Regions from separate parts of the Homo sapiens genome. Here regions 1, 2, 3, 5 and 6 are each linked to region 4. The links are contacts of gene promoters, found by promoter capture Hi-C in human tissues and cell types (Jung and others, 2019). All regions are on one chromosome and are shown on one strand. The core of a region is centred on a gene start or on the middle of the fragment in contact, and the rest is flanking DNA. Distances in the headings are between cores, read along the strand shown.

The links. Contacts are between HindIII fragments. The study calls those that stand out against the background at their distance.
Region 1: a contact is called between the fragment with the promoter of AKAP8 here and the fragment with the promoter of AP1M1 in region 4, in 4 of the 25 tissues and cell types used here (dorsolateral prefrontal cortex, mesenchymal stem cells, mesendoderm cells and 1 more).
Region 2: the fragment with the promoter of CYP4F3 here is called in contact with the fragment with the promoter of AP1M1 in region 4 in 5 of the 25 tissues and cell types used here (liver, lymphoblastoid cells, mesendoderm cells and 2 more).
Region 3: the fragment with the promoter of WIZ here is called in contact with the fragment with the promoter of AP1M1 in region 4 in 1 of the 25 tissues and cell types used here (dorsolateral prefrontal cortex).
Region 5: the fragment with the promoter of AKAP8L here is called in contact with the fragment with the promoter of AP1M1 in region 4 in 5 of the 25 tissues and cell types used here (H1 embryonic stem cells, dorsolateral prefrontal cortex, lymphoblastoid cells and 2 more).
Region 6: the fragment with the promoter of EPHX3 here is called in contact with the fragment with the promoter of AP1M1 in region 4 in 5 of the 25 tissues and cell types used here (H1 embryonic stem cells, dorsolateral prefrontal cortex, heart left ventricle and 2 more).

The regions. Positions count from the first base shown.
Region 1 is chr19:15,378,168-15,381,138 of GRCh38, forward strand. AKAP8 (A-kinase anchoring protein 8) reads right to left here and starts at 1,620. Exons shown (of 14, transcript NM_005858.4): 1 at 1,546-1,620. The coding sequence starts at 1,564. AKAP8L (A-kinase anchoring protein 8 like) reads right to left here. Exons shown (of 14, transcript NM_014371.4): 13 at 2,350-2,445; 14 at 1,883-2,263. The coding sequence ends at 1,955. RefSeq lists enhancers at 761-1,676, 1,611-1,905, 1,677-2,591 and silencers at 866-1,415, 1,756-2,245. The HindIII fragment of the contact is 19,214 bases long and covers 1-2,971 here.
Region 2 is chr19:15,639,425-15,642,332 of GRCh38, forward strand. CYP4F3 (cytochrome P450 family 4 subfamily F member 3) reads left to right here and starts at 1,473. Exons shown (of 13, transcript NM_000896.3): 1 at 1,473-1,521; 2 at 1,991-2,189. The coding sequence starts at 1,992. The HindIII fragment of the contact is 9,363 bases long and covers 1-2,908 here.
Region 3 is chr19:15,448,540-15,451,291 of GRCh38, forward strand. It overlaps WIZ (WIZ zinc finger), which reads right to left and starts at 1,417. Exons shown (of 13, transcript NM_001371589.1): 1 at 1,259-1,417. MIR1470 (microRNA 1470) reads left to right here and starts at 1,009; the gene lies at 1,009-1,069. RefSeq lists silencers at 682-791, 1,142-1,261, 1,312-1,441. The HindIII fragment of the contact is 11,591 bases long and covers 1-2,752 here.
Region 4 is chr19:16,196,505-16,199,582 of GRCh38, forward strand. It overlaps AP1M1 (adaptor related protein complex 1 subunit mu 1), which reads left to right and starts at 1,407. Exons shown (of 12, transcript NM_032493.4): 1 at 1,407-1,564. The coding sequence starts at 1,523. RefSeq lists a silencer at 1,551-1,790. The HindIII fragment of the contact is 7,648 bases long and covers 1-3,078 here.
Region 5 is chr19:15,417,715-15,420,571 of GRCh38, forward strand. It overlaps AKAP8L (A-kinase anchoring protein 8 like), which reads right to left and starts at 1,274. Exons shown (of 14, transcript NM_014371.4): 1 at 1,197-1,274. The coding sequence starts at 1,209. It overlaps WIZ (WIZ zinc finger), which reads right to left. Exons shown (of 13, transcript NM_001371589.1): 13 at 2,264-2,857. The HindIII fragment of the contact is 22,741 bases long and covers 1-2,857 here.
Region 6 is chr19:15,231,068-15,234,240 of GRCh38, forward strand. EPHX3 (epoxide hydrolase 3) reads right to left here and starts at 1,381. Exons shown (of 7, transcript NM_024794.3): 1 at 902-1,381; 2 at 709-794; 3 at 172-329; 4 at 1-23. The coding sequence starts at 1,144. RefSeq lists an enhancer at 1,131-1,632 and a silencer at 1,971-2,130. The HindIII fragment of the contact is 16,546 bases long and covers 1-3,173 here.

The DNA of each region.
Region 1 (2,971 bases), core at 370-2,869, 820 kb before region 4:
GACCCAGTCATACTGCTGAGTTTTGCCCTCTGCTATGCTACGCCTTCCCCTCCGTCATACCGCAAAACCTTCTAAATTCGCATCCGTGCAGCAGAAAGGCAGACTGCAGATTCCAACAGCAAGTAACCAACCTCGAGAGACTGCTTCTCTGTGAAGCTCTAGTGTAAGTGGCACGCACTATTAACCTTAAAACGCTCCCGGAAACACAAGAAATCAGGGAAGCTTAACTATCTCCAGTGTGTCTGAAAGGTTTTCGGCAGGTAGGAAGAGGGGGTAAAAAAAACCTCTCCAAACTAAGAATGAAAAGAAGGAATACAATACCTGCAGAAAAGATCTGATGGGAAAGAAGGGAAAGAATGGTGAAATCTACCCAGGCTGCGGAAGACCAGGAGAGCCAGGCTGAGCCTTCGCTAGGACCCGGAAGACACCAAAGCACACCGCGCACGCTGCCGCCTCAGGACCGAAACCTCTCTCTGCAATTTCTGGTGCTGGGATACTTTTGCCCTGCCACTTCTCAAGATCGACAACTTCTCGAGCTCCTGCAGCCAGGATCAGACCACTAGCTTCTCTACAACCAGTCGAGCTCCACCCAGCATGTCCCAACTATCCCCTGTGGGCAAACTTTGCTCCCAAAAGGCTCTGATTCCAGAAGCAGGGAGCAGGCAGCTCGAGAAGATCGGCCCTACTGCAGGCCAAGCGCTAAATCCTAGTGGGGAAAGGACACGTTCCCTCCTGCACAGCCCCTCGGCCCCTCCAGGCCACCACAACAGACTGCCTAAAGGAGAACTGCCAATGTCACCAGCCCCAGGGCACATCAGGTTTCCAGCTTTATACGAACACTCAGCATCTGCCCCTCACCATCCTGTCCCAAGCCAGCACGCGCCGGGTACAGAGCTGGAGCCCGGCGAGGCTGACTCTCGCGCCGGCAGCACTCGGCCCCACCGCGCTGCACCGGGGACTAAAGGCCCGACCCCGCGCAGCCCGACGGCTTCCGGGACAGGCGCCCTGGGCCACGTGAGCCCAGCGGAGACCCTACACGGCCCCGCGGGCCTAGGGCAGGTCGGGAGAGAGGCGGCCCCCGCGGTCCGCCCGCGGCCCCAGACCCAGCTCCCCGGGTCCGACCTCACAACCCCACGCTGTAGCTCCGCCCCCCTAGCGCCGCCATTTTGTGGCGTCTTCGGAAGAGGAAGCCGGGAGTGCAAACCCCGGGGTCGCTGGGGGCCGGAAGGACTCCGCCGAAGGTGAGGGGCAAAAACGGCCCACACTGTCTAAGACGCCCCCACGAAGCCCACCGCGGCGTCTGCCCCAACCCCGAGTCCCGCCCGCCTCCTCGGGGCCTGGCGGCCAATCCGCACGCAGAGCCCCGGGAGCGACGGCGCCAAAGCCCAATGAGCGGCGCGCGCGCGCCCTGGCCGCCTCTCCGGAGGGCCCAGCTGGGGCAACCACGCTCGGGACGAAGGCCCGGCCGGCGGCAGTCTGCGCAGCGGCTGCGTCGCCCGCACAGAGCCTTCCCTCCCCGCTCCGCACCCAGCAGCCAACACAAACCTCCGTAGCCCTGGTCCATGTCTTCGACGCGGCCCACCAGCAGCCCCGTTTACTAGGCGACCACAGCACGCATGCGTTCAGCGCACCTCCGCCATCGACTACTGGAAGACCAGGCGCACACGTCACTACTTCCGCGCGCCCCCATTGGCTGGTCTTCACGAGGGCCCGCCCTCGCCGTCCCAGCTGGCCTTTCGGGCTGCTACGATCCAGCTCCGTGGCCTAATGGGAGTTGTGGTCCCACCGCGGTGCCCGACGGCCCGGCCCGCGCGCATGCGCACCCCGCCCCTCTGCCCACCCCGCCCCGCCCGCGCGGCACAGTAACAGAGAAACCCGGAGGTGGGATGGGAAAACTTTATTAGGTTTGGTTTCCAGCTTCGGCCACGCGGGCTCCGCCCGCCCCGAGCTCGGGTCACGGGGCGCCCCCGCCGCCCTCCTCGTCGTCCTCCACGTCGAGGCCCGGGATGCCGCGGATCTGGCGTTGCAGCGCCCCTCCCAGCAAGGGCACGGCGCCCTCCTCCTCCTCCTCTGGGGGCGGCGGCGGTGGCGGCGACACGGCCCCGGGGGCTGGCTCTGGGGGCACGGGAGGCTGCGCCGGCACGCCCTCTGCGCCCTCCGAGATCCCTGCCGCTTCGCCCTGCGCCCCCTCGTCCAGGGCACCGCCCTCAGCCTCCTCCTGCTCCTTCTCCTCCTCGGGGCTGTCGGTGAAAGGGTTCTCGCCCTGTGGGGAGGGGCGCGGACACTGAAGGGAGGGAGCACAGGCGGGGACTAAGCTGGGGACAGGGCAGGCCCGGACCAGTGCCTCACCTTCAGGTAGCGCTCCAGCTTCTTGCTGATGAGCTTGTTGTTGAGAATACTGCGGGCCACCATGAGGGAGGACTTCTTGGACTGCTCCATCATGAGCTGCGGGCAGGGCAGAAGGAGCTGGAGAGGCTGCTCTGAGTGCCCTACAAGTTGCTGCCCCGACCCTGCCAGCTTAGAGGGACCCCACCCCGCCCCTGCACCCACGCACTTCCAGCCCCACCAACGGAGGGCCACTCCACAAGCATGGAACCACAACCTATCTGATCTTTGTTCAAATTCCCTCTCCTTCCACACCACACTTACTGTAGGTAAATAAAAATACAGATCTATATATCTCTAACTTTACGGCTGTATTACAGAAATCTGATTTGCTTACAAAAAAGCTATAAGCAGTGAACAATTAAGAAACTAAGAGCCAAAGGTGGGTGCAACCTGTAACAAGGTGCCAACTAGGCTAATAGGCAAGGAGCACTTTGGGGCCAACGGGGAAGATATAAAAACAGGAACAGATATTTAATGAAACGTCTTTTTTAACCCACAGAATTCCAAGAATGAAGAATTATTCCCAGTCATGCAAGGGTGAAGAGAGTCTTCTCTGCTGGTGGGAGGATCAACTGTTTCCGTA
Region 2 (2,908 bases), core at 223-2,722, 560 kb before region 4:
GGCACTTTTTATGTAGCGCAGGCAAGAGTAGGAACTCTTCATGTAGAGCAAGCAGCACTCAGTAGGCACCCTTTATGTACAGAAGGCAGCCCACAGTAGGTACACTTTATGGAGCACAGGCAACACTCGAGCAGGCAGCACTCAATAGACCCTCTTTATGTAGATCAGGAAACACTCAGTAGGAAGTCACCATATAGAGCAGGTGGTATCAGTAGGCACTGTTTATGTAGAGCACTTGGCACTCAGTAGGCATGTGTTATGTAGACAGCAACTGGTGCTCAGTGGGCACTCTTCATATACAGGGGGTGGCACTCAATAGGCACTCACTATGTAGAGCAGGTGGCACACAGTAGGCACTCTATGAGGAATATCAGGAACTGAGTATACAGGGTTAATGTAGAGCACCTGGCACACAGTAGGCACACTTTATGGAAAGCACTTGGCACAGAGTAGACAGGATTTAGCACCTGGCACACAGTAGCTGCCCTTCATTTAGAGTATTGGCACACAGTAGAAGTACTTTCCATGCAGCCTTTGTGCAGAGTAGAGACTGGCACACAGCAGCTCAAGTGCTAGTTGCCACCCTTTCCCTTCACTCCTTTTTGGGGCTCCCTCCTCTTAGGAGCCCTCATTGTCCCCCGCTAAGGCCCTCATCGAACATCCCATTTCCCAGATGGGAAGACTGCACCCAGGAGGGGCAGTACTGACCAAAGTCAGAGCAAGGATGAGGCAGAATGAGGACTCCATTCATGGTTCCCTGGCTCTGCCCTTCCCCTGCCTGGACCCCATCCGTTCCCTCTCATCCTAACCCTCCACGTCCCCGCTCTGTCCTCCTATACTGAGTCCGGCCTCCAGATTTGCTTTTCCAGCTGAGCTCTTAATCTCCAGAATCTGACCCAGGTAATCCTCAGTGGGGCTGGATTCTTTGTTCCCGTTCCTAGCAGTCAGGTCTCCAACAGGGCCCTGGACTGCCTGGAGGCAAGACTTGAACTCCATCCAGCAGCAGGGGGATAGAGGCTTGTCTCTTCCAGGTTGCCTGATTCAGCATCCAGAAGTGGTACACGGTGTCCTACCGGCCCAGGGTTAGAGAGGAGCACAGGAGATGATCTGGAACAAGGCTTGGCCTGGCCTGGCTCGCTTGACACCTGAACTCTCAAGTTCATGCTTTTATCTGCCACACACTCAGTAGGTGCTCTTTAAGAGCAGGTGTCACACAGTGGAAACTCTATCTGACCCCTCTCGGCTTACTCTCCACCTTATGTGGGAGGTGCTGAGACCTGAGGATCCAGTGCCTGTGCTGTGTCACCCTGAGCTGGTTCCTCTGCATCCAGCTGGTCTCCCACACCCAGGTTTTGGCCAGCTGCCCAGACATGGGAGCGGCACCCAGGCTGTGGGGATTGGCTGGCCCAGCCCAGCCCAGCCTAGCCTCCCACAGCCTTCCCTACATCAGGGGCCAGGGGAAAAAACCTCCCAGAAGAAGGGGAGAGGAGGTTGTGTGGGACAAGGTGCTCCTGACAGAAGGTGCCAGGGTGGGGGTGGTGGGCCTGGGGCATCCTAGCCTGTGATGGAGATGGGCACTGGGCAAGGGATTGGGCGCACACATAGGGGAGCCCCAGCCTTCCCACATTCTCCATTGCTGCCCAAGGCCCAGGCAGCTCCTGGTTGCTGGCTTGGAGGATGAGTGGTTTTCTAACTGAAACCAAGCCCCTGGCAACGTCCTAATGATTCAGGCTGGGCCTTTCTGGACTTTAATCAGTTTCTCTGTCTTTCTCAATCTAAGTGCTTACCGGGTAACTGGAGGCCACTTGGTTGCTGGTTTTGGCTGGGCCTTTCTGGACTTTACCCCTCAGCCCCTGTTTATCCATCCCTGTTTACTCTTACTGTTCTATCTCCAGCACTGCCCGTCTCTGCCTCTCTCCACTGTCCCTGGAGCTCCCTGGGCCCTTCCCTGGGCCTCAGGACCTCACTCACCACCCCATCTGCCCTGCAGGATGCCACAGCTGAGCCTGTCCTCGCTGGGCCTTTGGCCAATGGCAGCATCCCCGTGGCTGCTCCTGCTGCTGGTTGGGGCCTCCTGGCTCCTGGCCCGCATCCTGGCCTGGACCTATACCTTCTATGACAACTGCTGCCGCCTCCGGTGTTTCCCGCAACCCCCGAAACGGAATTGGTTCTTGGGTCACCTGGGCCTGGTGAGTGTGGCAGCAGGACGGGTCTGGGGTCTCAGGGTGGATGGACTTCCTGAGGGGTAAGAATGAGGCTCAGGTGAGAGGGGGTGGGCTGGGGTCTGGGGTGGCAGAGAAGCAGGGGAGGCGTCTTACTCATTCCTCTGCTTACTCATTTCTGTGAGGTGCCAACCCAAGCCCTTCTCACCTCCCTGTTCTCCCACTCTTGGCCTGTGTTGAATCCTTTTCCTGCCTGTCTTTCCACATTAATGCACCTCTGCGGGGCTCTTGGGCAGGGGGTTGGGTGCACAGAAAGGTGAACCCCTGGCGTTCCCACATTCTCCATTGCTGGACTCGAGGCCTCCTGTACCCACTGTTCAGGGTCCTCTCCCTACCTGGCCTATTTCCTCTTATGAGGGTATAGGTGGGCCAGAGGAGAGGTGTGGGCTGTCTCTCACCTCCACCACATCCGGAGGCACCTTCCTCTTATCTTGTTCCTCCCCAGTAAGATGTCCCAATGGGGTCCTGTTGCCAAACCCACATAAAAGTTGGCCACTCACTTCCCCTTTCAGAAGCCTTCCCTGACCTTTCTCCTCCCCCAGACCTTGCCCTCTGACTTAGACCTGCTCTCCCCTTTGCGGAACGTGGTCTCAATCTGCTCATTGCAAATGGCAGGATTGATGGGTGTGTCCACAGGTGAAGTGGGAGGGTGCACAGGATGCACTAGCACAGAGCCTGGTGCAGAA
Region 3 (2,752 bases), core at 167-2,666, 750 kb before region 4:
GCCCCTACCCTCAGCATGCCTCCGTCTCCCCATCAATAACTCCTCCCCTTTATACAGATCCTGCACTGCCTCAGTTTACCCATATTGACACATGCACACTCAGCCACCTGGTCTTCTTCCATCAATCTTACCATTTCTCCAGACGCCTCCCTTCATTCACACACAGCTGCACTTTCCCCAGTCCTGCCCTCACATCCATGCACACGCACATCCTACTGCCATGCCTTCGTTTCCTCGGCAAGAATCCCAGCCACTTGTACACTCTGATCCTATACACCGTCAGGAGTCTCCCATCATTACCCCTTTACTTTTCTCCATTGGGTTGTCCCATACCAATGATCCCTGCACTTTTCCCACACTCCAACCCTTCCCCCACACAGGACCTTAGGGTTCTCCAGCATTAACCCCTTCACCCCCCTCCACACACACAGCCTCAAGTGACCCCAGCATTAACCCTTTCGCTTCTCCCCAACATTATCCCTCATGCATACCCAGCTTGGGCTCCTCCATTCCCCCCACCCCCCAACCAAGATTGCTCTAGTCCTCGGGCGAAAGAAAACGATAGGGCTCCTGGTCCAGAAATGAGGACCCTGGGGAGCGGGGGTTGTCCTCTCTACCTATAAATACCTTCAAGGTAACGGCGGAAAGTGAAGGGCAGGAATGAGGCGCCCTCCCCAGGGAGATGGTGGGGAGGCCGGGCCCAGGCAACCGGGGCGGGGCCGGGGCGCCAGGCCTGGTTGCAGGCGCTGCCCTCGGGGGCCTGGGGATTCCCAGGGGGCTCCTCCGTGGGCTGGCAGTCTTGGTGGGGGTCCCTACCCAGGCCCGGAGGAAGCACCTGCGGTTGTCCACTGGGTGGGCACTGCCCGCGGGGAACGGGCGGGACCGCAACTTCGGAGCACTTTGGCAGCGTGGGGAGGGGGCTCCTACCCGGACGCCCCCCAGGGGTCGCAGAGGTGGGGGCTGCGCCGCGCGGGCCCACTCCTCGGGGGTCCAGGGTCCGGGGGATGAGCCCTCCGCCCGTGCACCCCGGGGCAGGAGACCCCGCGGGACGCGCCGAGGTAGGGGGGACACCTGCCCCAAGACCCCCGCCCCTCCCCCCACCTGCACGGCCCCGCCCCCGGCCAGGCCCCGCCCCTGAAGGCCCCGCCCCCGCCCCCGCCCCGGGGGGTCCCGCCTGGCCCGGCCCGGCCCGGGGCCTCCCCCGCCCCGCTACGGCTCCGCCCCACCCGCGGGCTCCCCAGGCCGGGCCGGGCCTCACCGGGGAGGCGGCGCCGCCGGCCAGGTGCCGGGGCTCGGAGCTCCCCTCCTTGGTGCGGCCGTCGCTGCCGCTACCGCCGCTGCCGCTCCCGGTGCCGGTGCCGCGGCCTCCGCAGCCGCCGCCGCCTCCACCGCTCGGGGGACATTGTCCCTTTAAATCGCTCCCCCCGCCGCCCCGCCCCCCCGGCGCGCCGCCGTGACCTCAGCGCGACAGCCCCGCCGCGCCGCCATGATGGGGAGGTCCGGGGCGCCCCCCCCACCCCACCCCCCCCCCCCTCGCCGCCCCGGGGGGGGCGGCCAGCGGGCGCGCCGCCATGTTGGGAGTGGCCAAGCGGGTCACCCTTAAAGGGCCCGCACGGCCTGAGTCCAGGGAGAGGCCCCGTTACCATGACAACACCCTTGTCGTCCCACACCCCAATGGCTCCTTATCGTCCCACTGGTACTTCCAATGGTAGGCTCGCTAAAAGCACTAAAAGAGTGGGGAGGGTGCAGAGAAGTTCCCCCATGGGTCATTGATGGGTCATTGATAGGTCATTGAAGACTCCACCCAGCCAATTTTTAGCCTTTTGTCCCCTGCCCCCCATCAGCTACCTTCCAACCACAAGCTCACTCCCTCCTTCCCAATCATCCACACTGGACTTCAGCACCTCCATGTCCCTAGAGTTGCCCTAGGTCTTCAGTCCTAAGTCACCTTCTCCACCCAGTTCCCAGGATCACAGCTTCCAGGACTACCCCATCAGACACACATCATGGCCTGTTGTCTTGTCTTATCCACCATGTATCCAGATATCTAACCACCTAGCTATCTCATCCACTTCCTCAATCTATCAATCACTCATCTACCTATCCAATGAACTAATCACCTATCCACCCACCCCTCCAACCACCTATTAATTCACCCAAACACCCACTCAACCCACCCATTCACTTCCCATCTACCCACCCATTCATCCAGCACCCAAGTAAATACTCATTTATCCATACAACCAAGCAAGTACCCAACCATCCCCACACACATCTTTCCGCCCAGCCCCCCAAACATCCATCCACCAGTTTGTCTGTTGATTTGGTCCCTCCACTAACATGTAAGTTCCATGAGGCCAGGAGTCCTGTCTAGTTCATTATTGTTTCTCCACTGCCCAGTTCTCAGGCGTCTCAGGAGACCTCAACATATGTACATATGATATATATAATCACAACATTGAAAAAAATTTTTTCTTACTATGAACCAGGCCTTTTCTAGGCAGACATACCCAACCTGGTTAACCAACTACCCAGCTACTCACCTACCAGGTCAAACATCCAGCAAATGCTAACCTATCCGTCTGCCGTTTGCTCCACCCACTCTACCCCTCACCCATCCACTCACCCATGATTTGAATGACTCATTTACCCAATCATTCATACACAGTATCCAACCATCTCCACACCTGACCCCCTTCCTTTATCCGCCTCCCAGACCCATGGCCTCCGTGACATGAGGAGGGCCTAGGAA
Region 4 (3,078 bases), core at 157-2,656:
AATAAAGCTTGTTTAATCCTAAAAGGGTCCTGTTAAGAATTCCTTCATTATCTTGTCATGCTTCAAGGCCCAGGAAAGGCCTAGGCACAACTCTGGGTGGGCTTTTGTTACATCCCAGCCTTTGTATAAGGGCACTGGCTCTCTTATCTTTTAATATTTAACTTAACCCTTGTAATCCCAGCACTTTGGGAGGCCGAGGTGGGTGGATCACGTGAGGTCAGGAGTTTGAGACAAGCCTGGCCAACATGGTGAAACCACGTCTCTACTAAAAATACAAAAATTAGCTAGGTGTGGTGGCACATGCCTGTAATCCCAGCCACTTGAGAGGCTGACACACAAGAGAATCACTTGAACCCAGGAGGCAGAGGTTGCAGTGAGCCGAGATCATGCCATTGCACTCCAGCCTGGGTGACAGAGTGAGACTCCATCTCAAAAAAAAAAAAAAAAAAAAAAGCAAACAACAAAAACCCTCTCTTGGCTGCTTGCTCTGTGCCTTGAGCAAGAATCCTTCCAGCCCAGGAGTCACTTAGCAGTCTTCAAACATTCTAGTTTGCTTCTCTAGAGTTTCGGTCACATTTCTTTCCTAAGCAAAACACTATATAATTACCGAGTTGCAAAAATCATCTTTCCAAACGCCAAAACGGAGATAAGACAGAAAATAAAAGATGTGAGAGGCAGGCATCCTGGGTAAATCACTCTGGTATTGCAGGGTTGGGATCCCCAGGGTACTATGATGGCTAACTGGAACAGAATGCAGGCATTTCTCCAAAGCCCAAGAGTTCATAAAAGCAAATTAAATATGACTCAATGGATTAATCAAGGGCCACCAGTTGCATTACTGATTACTAACTTTGCAGAAATGAAACACGGTATGTTGGGTCAAGGTTCAGTGAGGCTGGTTTTCATAACATTCCAGGCAATAAACAGGCACACTCATTCATTGATAAATGTTGACAATGACAGGTGGTGACTGTTGATAAGGTTTGATTGCCATTCAGAAAGTTTGTTTGACCTCTTTCCAAGTAACCACGACCTTACCTCTCTCTTTTGAGCTTATCACAATTGGTGACTGTACACTTGTTTCATAGACTTCCCCACCAGACTGTGAGCTCCATAGGGCTGGGCCCCAGGTCGGTTTCACCACCAGGCTCTCTCGCCTAACTCGGCCCACGGGAGGCCGTTTCCAGCTGCTCTGGCTCCATAGCTCAGCCTGGCAGCGGCCACTGGGTGCCCTGATTTGGTCGGCCCCGCCCCACCGGGCCTTACTTCCGGGATGCTTCTGGCGGGAGCAAGAAACATGGTTACATACGACGTAATGCGCCTGCGCACAGTCCGTCCTGCGCCTGCGCATTCCTGACAGCACCTCCCGGACCGGACATAACGGTCCCCGCGCGGCTCCCCGAACCGGAAGTGGAGGTGAGCTGTCGCGGGCGGCGCCCGGCCTTGCTCAACGCCCAGCAGTCCCCACCGTCGCTGCCGCCGCCACCGCCCTCGGCCGCTGCCGAGGCCTCCTGCAGCCATCATGTCCGCCAGCGCCGTCTACGTGCTGGACCTGAAGGGCAAGGTACTGAGGGCTCCCCACCCTCCCTGTTGCCAGGCAACCGGCAGGGGCCTCCGCCCGCGGGGACCCACCCTGTTGCTAGGTAACCGGCTTATGAGCCCCATCCTGGTGTGAGGCAGAGAGGCCGGTAGACCTCACCTGAGAGCCCCATCCTGTTTCTGGGTAACCGGGCGGGGGTCTTAAGTGGGTAATCCCCGCCCTGTTGCTACGTAACGCGGTGGGCTGCAGCCACCGCGTTGCCAGGTAACTGACTGCACCGCCCTCTGCTCCCCGGCGCCGGGGCCGGGGGCTCGGGCCTCGGTGGAGGACCCAGAAGCGGGGCCGCAGCCGGCCTCGGAGCCAGGCAGGGCGTCCAGGGGCTGCGCGACCCTTGGCCGGGGGTGGCGAGGCGTGGCGGGGACTGGGTGCTCTCGAGCCAGTCCCGCCTTCTCAGGGCGTTACAGCTTCTGTTTATCGTGCACTTTCTCTCAGTAGGAATTTCTCCACGTTCATTGTGATAGTGAGTTACAAGGATTAGGTGAGGTGAGTGGTGATCACGAGTGCCGTTTTATAGAGGGAGAAACTGAGGCATGGAGAGGTGAAGCAACCTGACCAAGGTCACAATGGTCACAGAGAAGTAGCAAGTCTAGGAGTCCGATCCAGAATCATTCGTTTATTCAGCTGATATCTGGGGAGCACCTACTAATGCCGGGCAGGGTACTAAGCCTGGGGTCGATTTGTGTTTAGCAAAAAACAGTCCCTTTTTTTTTGTTTTGTTTTTGAGATAGTGTCATGCTCAGTCGTCCAGTCTGGAGTGTAGTGGTGCAATCTCCACTCACTGCAACCTCCGCCTCCCGGGTTCAAGCAATTTTCCTGCCTCAGCCTCCCAAGTAGCTGGGATTACAGGCACCTGCCACTACGCCGAGCTAAATTTTGTATTTTTAGTAGAGGCAGGGTTTCACCATGTTGACCAGGCTGGTCTCGAACTCTTGACCTCGAGTGATCCACCTGTCTTAGCCTCCCAAAGTGCTGGGATTACAGGTGTGAGTCATGTGCCAGGGCTCAACAATCTGTGTTCTTACGGTGTTCACAGGCTGGTAGGGGAGATGGATACCCATCTCCAAAAACACAAATAAATGTCAATTGCAGTGGTGTTGAGGGGCGAGTGTGTTATACAGACAGTCAGCCTCAGCCCGAGGATGAGAGAGGGTTTCCCTGAGGAGGGGTGACAAATGGACCAGAGACACCAGGGAGCTGGACATAAACTAGAACCCAGGCATCTTCCCCAGAGGATCTGAGAAAACTTTAAGAAGGGATTGTCCCCACCTTTTAGAAATGGTCCTCTGCCTTCTCCTAAGTCCATCCCAGGTGCAAGGCAGGTGGCTGCCTGGCCTGTTGCATGTGGAAGCAACAAGAACCGGTCCAACAATGTGAAGCCCAACATTGATCAGTGAGAGAAACAAACATGGGTGTCAGGTCCTAGGTGAGGCGGGCAGGGGTGAGCCCTAAAGCAGCTGAGAGTGAAGAGGTGAAATGGC
Region 5 (2,857 bases), core at 24-2,523, 780 kb before region 4:
CTCACGTTGCATTCTCAGTTCTCAAAATTCCAAGTAGAATGCAGGTTACCTGGCAACCACACACGCTCAAGCCTATAATACCCTCACCAAACAGGGAGGCCTAGTGTAAGTCTCCTGGCCGAGAAGCCTCATCAGTCACTGCCAAGGCAAACCCAGGAGGCCTTGGCAATTCACCCAGTGATGATTTACAGTCGCCCAAGCATATTGCGGGGGGCGGAGAGGGGCTCTCGGATCTGTCACCCACTCTCCCTTTCAAATCCCATTGGCCTCCCACTGGCCTCCCTGGCTGATCTTCTAACAAGCCAGGCAGTTCCTGCCCGTAAGCCTTTTACAGCAAAAGCTCCCTGGGCCAGATATCTTTATTCGCTCCCTCCATTTAGGTCTCTGCTCAAATGTCACCTCTTTACAGAAGGCTCCAACCACTCCACGTAGTGGAGCGACCCCCGCACGGTACTGACCACCCTAAAATATATCCTACACTCGCTTATTTGCCTATTAAGATCCTCGCCTCTAAGCTGCTTGAGGAATTCTTGTCTGTATTCCCAATACCCAGTCTGTACCGGACACGGTTCATTTGACAGACGCAGAGGGAATTAACATGGAACCTTGTCATTCCTTGCAGTTCAGCCCCTAGGGGCCCAAGGCTCCCCGCTCAGCCCAAACCCTTCCAATATTTACTTATCCCCCTAGGGCCTGGCGCCTTTCCCAGTTCTGAAATAGACAAAAGGGGGTGGTGGGTGGGATCGGGATGGGGGTGTAGAGCTGCGGCGTTTTTGCAGAGAAACTGCGCGGGGGAGGACGCGACAATGGCGACGGCAGCCGAGCCTGCTGCCTGCTCGCAAGGACCAAGGCCTGAGAAAGGGAAACCTAAGGCGTCGAGGTCCAGGAGCGCAGGCCAGGGACGGAGGTGGTGGGGGCGGAGACCTCGTGCGCTGAGGCCCGGACCCACGGACACAGGCGACAGAAGCCAAGACATCAGGCGGCCGGGAGCCGGGACGCCGGCTGCAGACACAGAGAGCTGAGGCAACGAGGCGTGAGGGCAGCGACCCTGAGGCGACGGGCCAGCGGCGCCATTTTGTGACCGCAGGGAAGGCAGTGACGGGGCCCCAGGGGAGGTGCGGGCAAGCCTGGTGCGGCATCCGCACGTCCCTGTCCCATCCCCCACGCAGAGCCCGACCCCACCCTGCCAGGCCCACCTGTGTAGCTCATGGTGGCGGGCAACACAACATCCGACGACGCCGGCTTCTGCTGCTCTGAACATCCGACGCTGCGATAGCTGCTGCTAACCACAGGGTCCCCTCCACACACACCCGAGCCCCGCCTCCCGACCGCATTGGCTCATACCGGCCTCGGCTTCACGTCTATTGGAAGGAACCGCTGTCTATCTCTATGCCTCCTCATATCAGTGGCTGGAAGCTGCTGGCAATCTCGTGAGAGCCCCGCCTTGTCCCCGCCTTCTGTTATTCTAAGGCCTCAGTGATTGGCCTACAGAAGCCGGCAGAGAGGCGGAGTCCTATAGAATTTGAGGGGGCGGAGCTGTGCACTACGGAAAGGCCCAAGGCCCAAGCATGGTCGGGCTGGAGGAGCGCCCGTACCCTGGAGACCCGCCAGAGGGAGTCGGGTCTACGGCTCAGGGCAGGGCTGGGATGCCAACTCCGCCACCGAGGTGCTGGGTAGGGGACCTAGCTAAGTCTCTCAAATTCTCTGGCCTTCGGCTCCAAAACAAGCATAGCAAAGCCATGTTGAGAAGAGAAAATTAAAACAGCACCAAACAAGATGCTGGACACACGTTTCAACATTACGTGACAAAGTGTGTGTAAAGAAATCATTCTGGTGCCAGTGCACTGAATAAATGTGATTAATCGTAACAAAACGATAATATATTTATATGGCATATGCTTATATGTGTAATAATTCCGTTTGTATTGTGTGTCATTCGAATGCTCCTTCAAACCTGCAAAAAGCTTTTAATCCTCACTTAAAACTGAAGCTTGGAACTCATGATTTGCTCAAGGTCCTTGACAGTTACGTGTTAAAATGGGAGCTTTGCTTCTAAAACCCTCCTGATTCACTCTGGGCTCGAGAGATCCTGCAATAGTGCAGCCGGGCACCAGTCATGTCCTCAGTCTGTTTCCTGGGCATATGGAAACCCTGCCAGGGACAACTCATAATTTCTAGAGATGACAGAGCTGCACCGAAGAGTACTTAACACGTGTGTTTGTGAAAACTCATTAAGCTGCGCAATTACGACTTCTACGCTTCGTGTGTTTTAAAACTTTTTTTAAGGTATGCTGTTTCTTTTTGATATTGTTGATTTCTTTAGGTGTAATAGTGGCATTTACAACGTTGAGAGAAACATACTGAAATACTAAGAAGTTAACTGATCTTATGGCCAGGATGTGCTTCACACAATTCAGACAGGTAGAGAGAGGAGGAGGAAGCAAGGAGCTATAAGATAAATCTCTGACAGCTGAAGACATTGGTCATGGGTTGGTGATGGATAGATGAGAGTCCATTTTACTGTTTGCTCTACTTTTGTATAGTTGGAATTCTCCATGATAAACTGTTTTAATAAAACTCCCCCCACCCAAATGAGGCTTCTGCAGAACTTGCTGCCATACGGAACAAAGCCACTTCTGATGTGTTAAGTGAGCAAACTCCAAACATGAAGCAGAGATCTGACGGATAAGCACTCTGGCTTCGGGGTTCATCTCCCCATCAGCCTCAGGGATGCCTGCCTGTCTTCCAAACCAAGGCAGGGCCCCAGGACACGTCTTCTGCGCCCTGCAGGTTCGTTCCTTCATCGCACTTGCCACAGTCATCATTGTACCGATTTGATTTCGTTCACATCCAACAC
Region 6 (3,173 bases), core at 131-2,630, 970 kb before region 4:
CACAAGGATGCACTTCGAGTAACCTGTGGGAATTCAAGGAGCTCGCATAAGTGAGGTGCCCAGTAGGACTGAAGCAGGGATGGGGGAAGTAGGTTCCAGCAAGGAGAAAGCGGGGGTATGCGTGTGTGCAGGATGAGGGAGGCCACGCCTAGGATGGGGGTATGTCTGCACCCAGGCCTAGGATGACATCTTTGATGTCCACCAGCAGCAGGTCGATTGTGTAGCAGTCCACATCCCGAGGTGCATCCGAGGGGCCATAGCCTCGCAAGTCCACAGCCACAACATGGAAGCGGCTCTGGAACTCCCGGAGCTGGTAACGCCAGGAGAACCTGCCAGGCGGGCGAGGGAGGGAGGCTGAGTCAGGGCCCTCAGGTTGCACCTGCACCCTACGCACATCAGCAACCATTGGCAAACCCTCCTTCCTGCTCTAAACTTCCCCTAAAAGGAGGATGGGGAATCCCAGGCAGAGGCAGAGGCTGAGGCTGAAGCCAGCTACACCCTGAATCCAGGGAACTTCAATCAACCTCAATACCCCTTTGTCCTGTCCCTTCAGGGCCTAGGGATCCTGGGTATGCTGGCTCAGTACCCCTATCCCCATCTATGTTCAGCTTGTCCCGATCTATACAGCCCTCCTCCCTGCCTCTTGGGAGCCCAAGCTCCACCTGCCCCCGAGTCCCGTGGGCCTCAGGCCCCTGGCCCCAGACGTACCAGTTCTCAGGGAAGCCGTGCAGAAACAGCATGAGGGGTCCGTTACCTCGTCCAGCCGAGACATAGTGCAGACGCAGGCCCGAGCTCTAGGGGGAGGGCACAGCCTGAAGCCTGGGGAACCCTCTCTCCCGAGGCTTGAACCGTCTCGACCCCACGCGACCCCGCAGCCCCGATAGCGCCCCCGTGCGATCACCTTGAGGTTCAGGAAACCGTGCTCACCCAGCGAGGGGTCGCTCAGGCAGGCGGGGGACGCGCTCCGACGGCGCCCGCAGCAGCCGCGCCGGGGCCGGCACAGCACGTGCGTGAGCGCTATGCAGCCGTAGACCGCCGCGGCCACCAGCGCCACCGAGAACACCAGGCTCCACATGAAGGCGCGCAGCAGCTTCAGCGACAGGCGCGACGGCGCCAGCAGCGCGGTCACCACCAGCTCCGGCATGTCGCCGCGCTCCGGGACCACGGCGGCGCTGCCGGCCAGGGGCACCTGCAGCAGCGGCGAAGCGGTGTCAGGGCTCAGGGGCCCATCGCCCTTGGCCTGGGGCCCCTCCGTGCCGTCGGGATTTGTGGGACGCGCTGAAGGAAGAGGCGGGCGGCTCCGACAGAAAACAGCCAGAGCGCACCACTCACCTGAGTGCCAGGTAAACACCTGGGCGCGACAGGGACAGGAAACAAGGGTAGGGTGCGGAGGCTGGGGAGGAAGAGGTTGGAAAGGGGGGAAATAAATGGGCGGGGCCTAGCAGGTCCTGTGCGGGGCTTAGGGCCGGGGCGGGGCCCAGGAAGACTCAGCAGCGGGTGGGTGAGGGTCTAAAGGCGGCAATTCCGGGCCGGGTGCGGTGGCTCACGCCTGTAATCCCAGCACTTTGGTAGGCCGAGGCGGGCGGATCACCTGAGATCAAGAGCTCGAGACCAGCCTGGGCAACGTGGTGAAACCCCGTCTCTACTAAAAATACAAAAATTAGCTGGGCGTGGTGGCGGGCGCCTGTAGTCCCAGCTACTTGGGAGGCTGAGGCAGGAGAATCGCTTGAACCCGGGACGTGGAGGTTGCAGTGAGCTGAGATCGCGCCACTGTACTCCAGCCTGGGTCACAACAGGGAAACTCCGTCTCAAAAAAGAAAAAAAAAAAAGGCAATTCCGAGCCCAGACAAACCTTAAGGAGGGGATCCTGGATCTTCAGTTAAGTGGGCGACACCTGGAGTGAGGGGCGGGGCATATGCAGAGTAGGTGCGGCCTACAAGCCAAAAAGGAGAAAGAGTTGGAATGGTGGGCCTGGCTTATGCGGGTGGGCGGGGAGAGGGTGGATCCTAGAGGAGGTGAGGCCTAACATTGGGCGAAGAAGGCGGGAGCCTGGGCCAATGAGCTGACGGTAGGCCGGGGAGGGGGCGGTGGGGTGGGGTGGGCAATGGGCAATGAGACGGAGGGCGGGGCCGGGACCTAATATGGCGGGTCAGGAGGGTCTGGAAGACGAAGAAGAGGGACAGGCAATGCCAGGTCTAGGACTAGGAGGGAGGCGCGGGCGGTATTAGCGGCTGGAGGAGGCTTCGGGAGGCCCGGCCGACGGCCGCCGCCTGGTGCTACCCACCCAGGGGCGCGCGACCCTCCCTTCGGTCTGGCTCCAAAGACCTAGCAGCACTGACTTCACCCAGCTGTGGTTCCAACGGCGGGTCCAGCGGCCTCGGCCCGGCGCCGTCCTCCTGCTGGCCCAACAGGCCCGCCAGCCCGCCCCTGTACGTCTGTGATTGGACGGCGGCGGCCACTGATGTTCAAGCGACAGGTCCTGGCCCGGGAGCCAATCTGCAGGTGTTGAGGCCCAGGCTCCGAGAGCGGGCCGAGGAGGCGTGGATACCCTGATTCCTAGGGGGCAGGCCTGGTTCCCCCGAGGAGGACCCGGCCTATGAATGACTGGAGTTCTGGGGTTCTGGCCGAAAGAGGAAGTGGGACAGGGCCGGGTGTGATGGGGCCTAGAGTCACAGAGCCTTGCGGCCCTGCTGTCCCTGCAAGAAGCCAGCTTCTGGCCAGGCGCGGTGGCTCACGCCTGTAATCCCAGCACTTTGGGAGGCCGAGGCGGGCGGATCACGAGGTCAGGAGATCGAGACCATCCTAACATGGTGAAACCCTGTCTCTACTAAAAATACAAAAAATTAGCCAGGCGTGGTGGCGGGCGCCTGTAGTCCCAGCTACTAGGGAGGCTGAGGCAGGAGAACGGCGTGAACCCAGGAGGCGGAGGTTGCAGTGAGCTGAGATTGCGCCACTGCACTCCAGCCAGGGCGACAGAGCGAGACTCCGTCTCAAAAAAAAAAAAAAAAGCAGCCAGCTTCTTCCTCCTATTTTGCAACCTTCTCCCGATATCCTTGAACATTTTAGGGACAGCCATCACTTAACCATAGAGCAACCCTATTAAGTCTAAGTAGCATAATCACATTCCTGTAGTATAGATCATGAACCTGAAATTCGAGGATGAAGTCATTTGC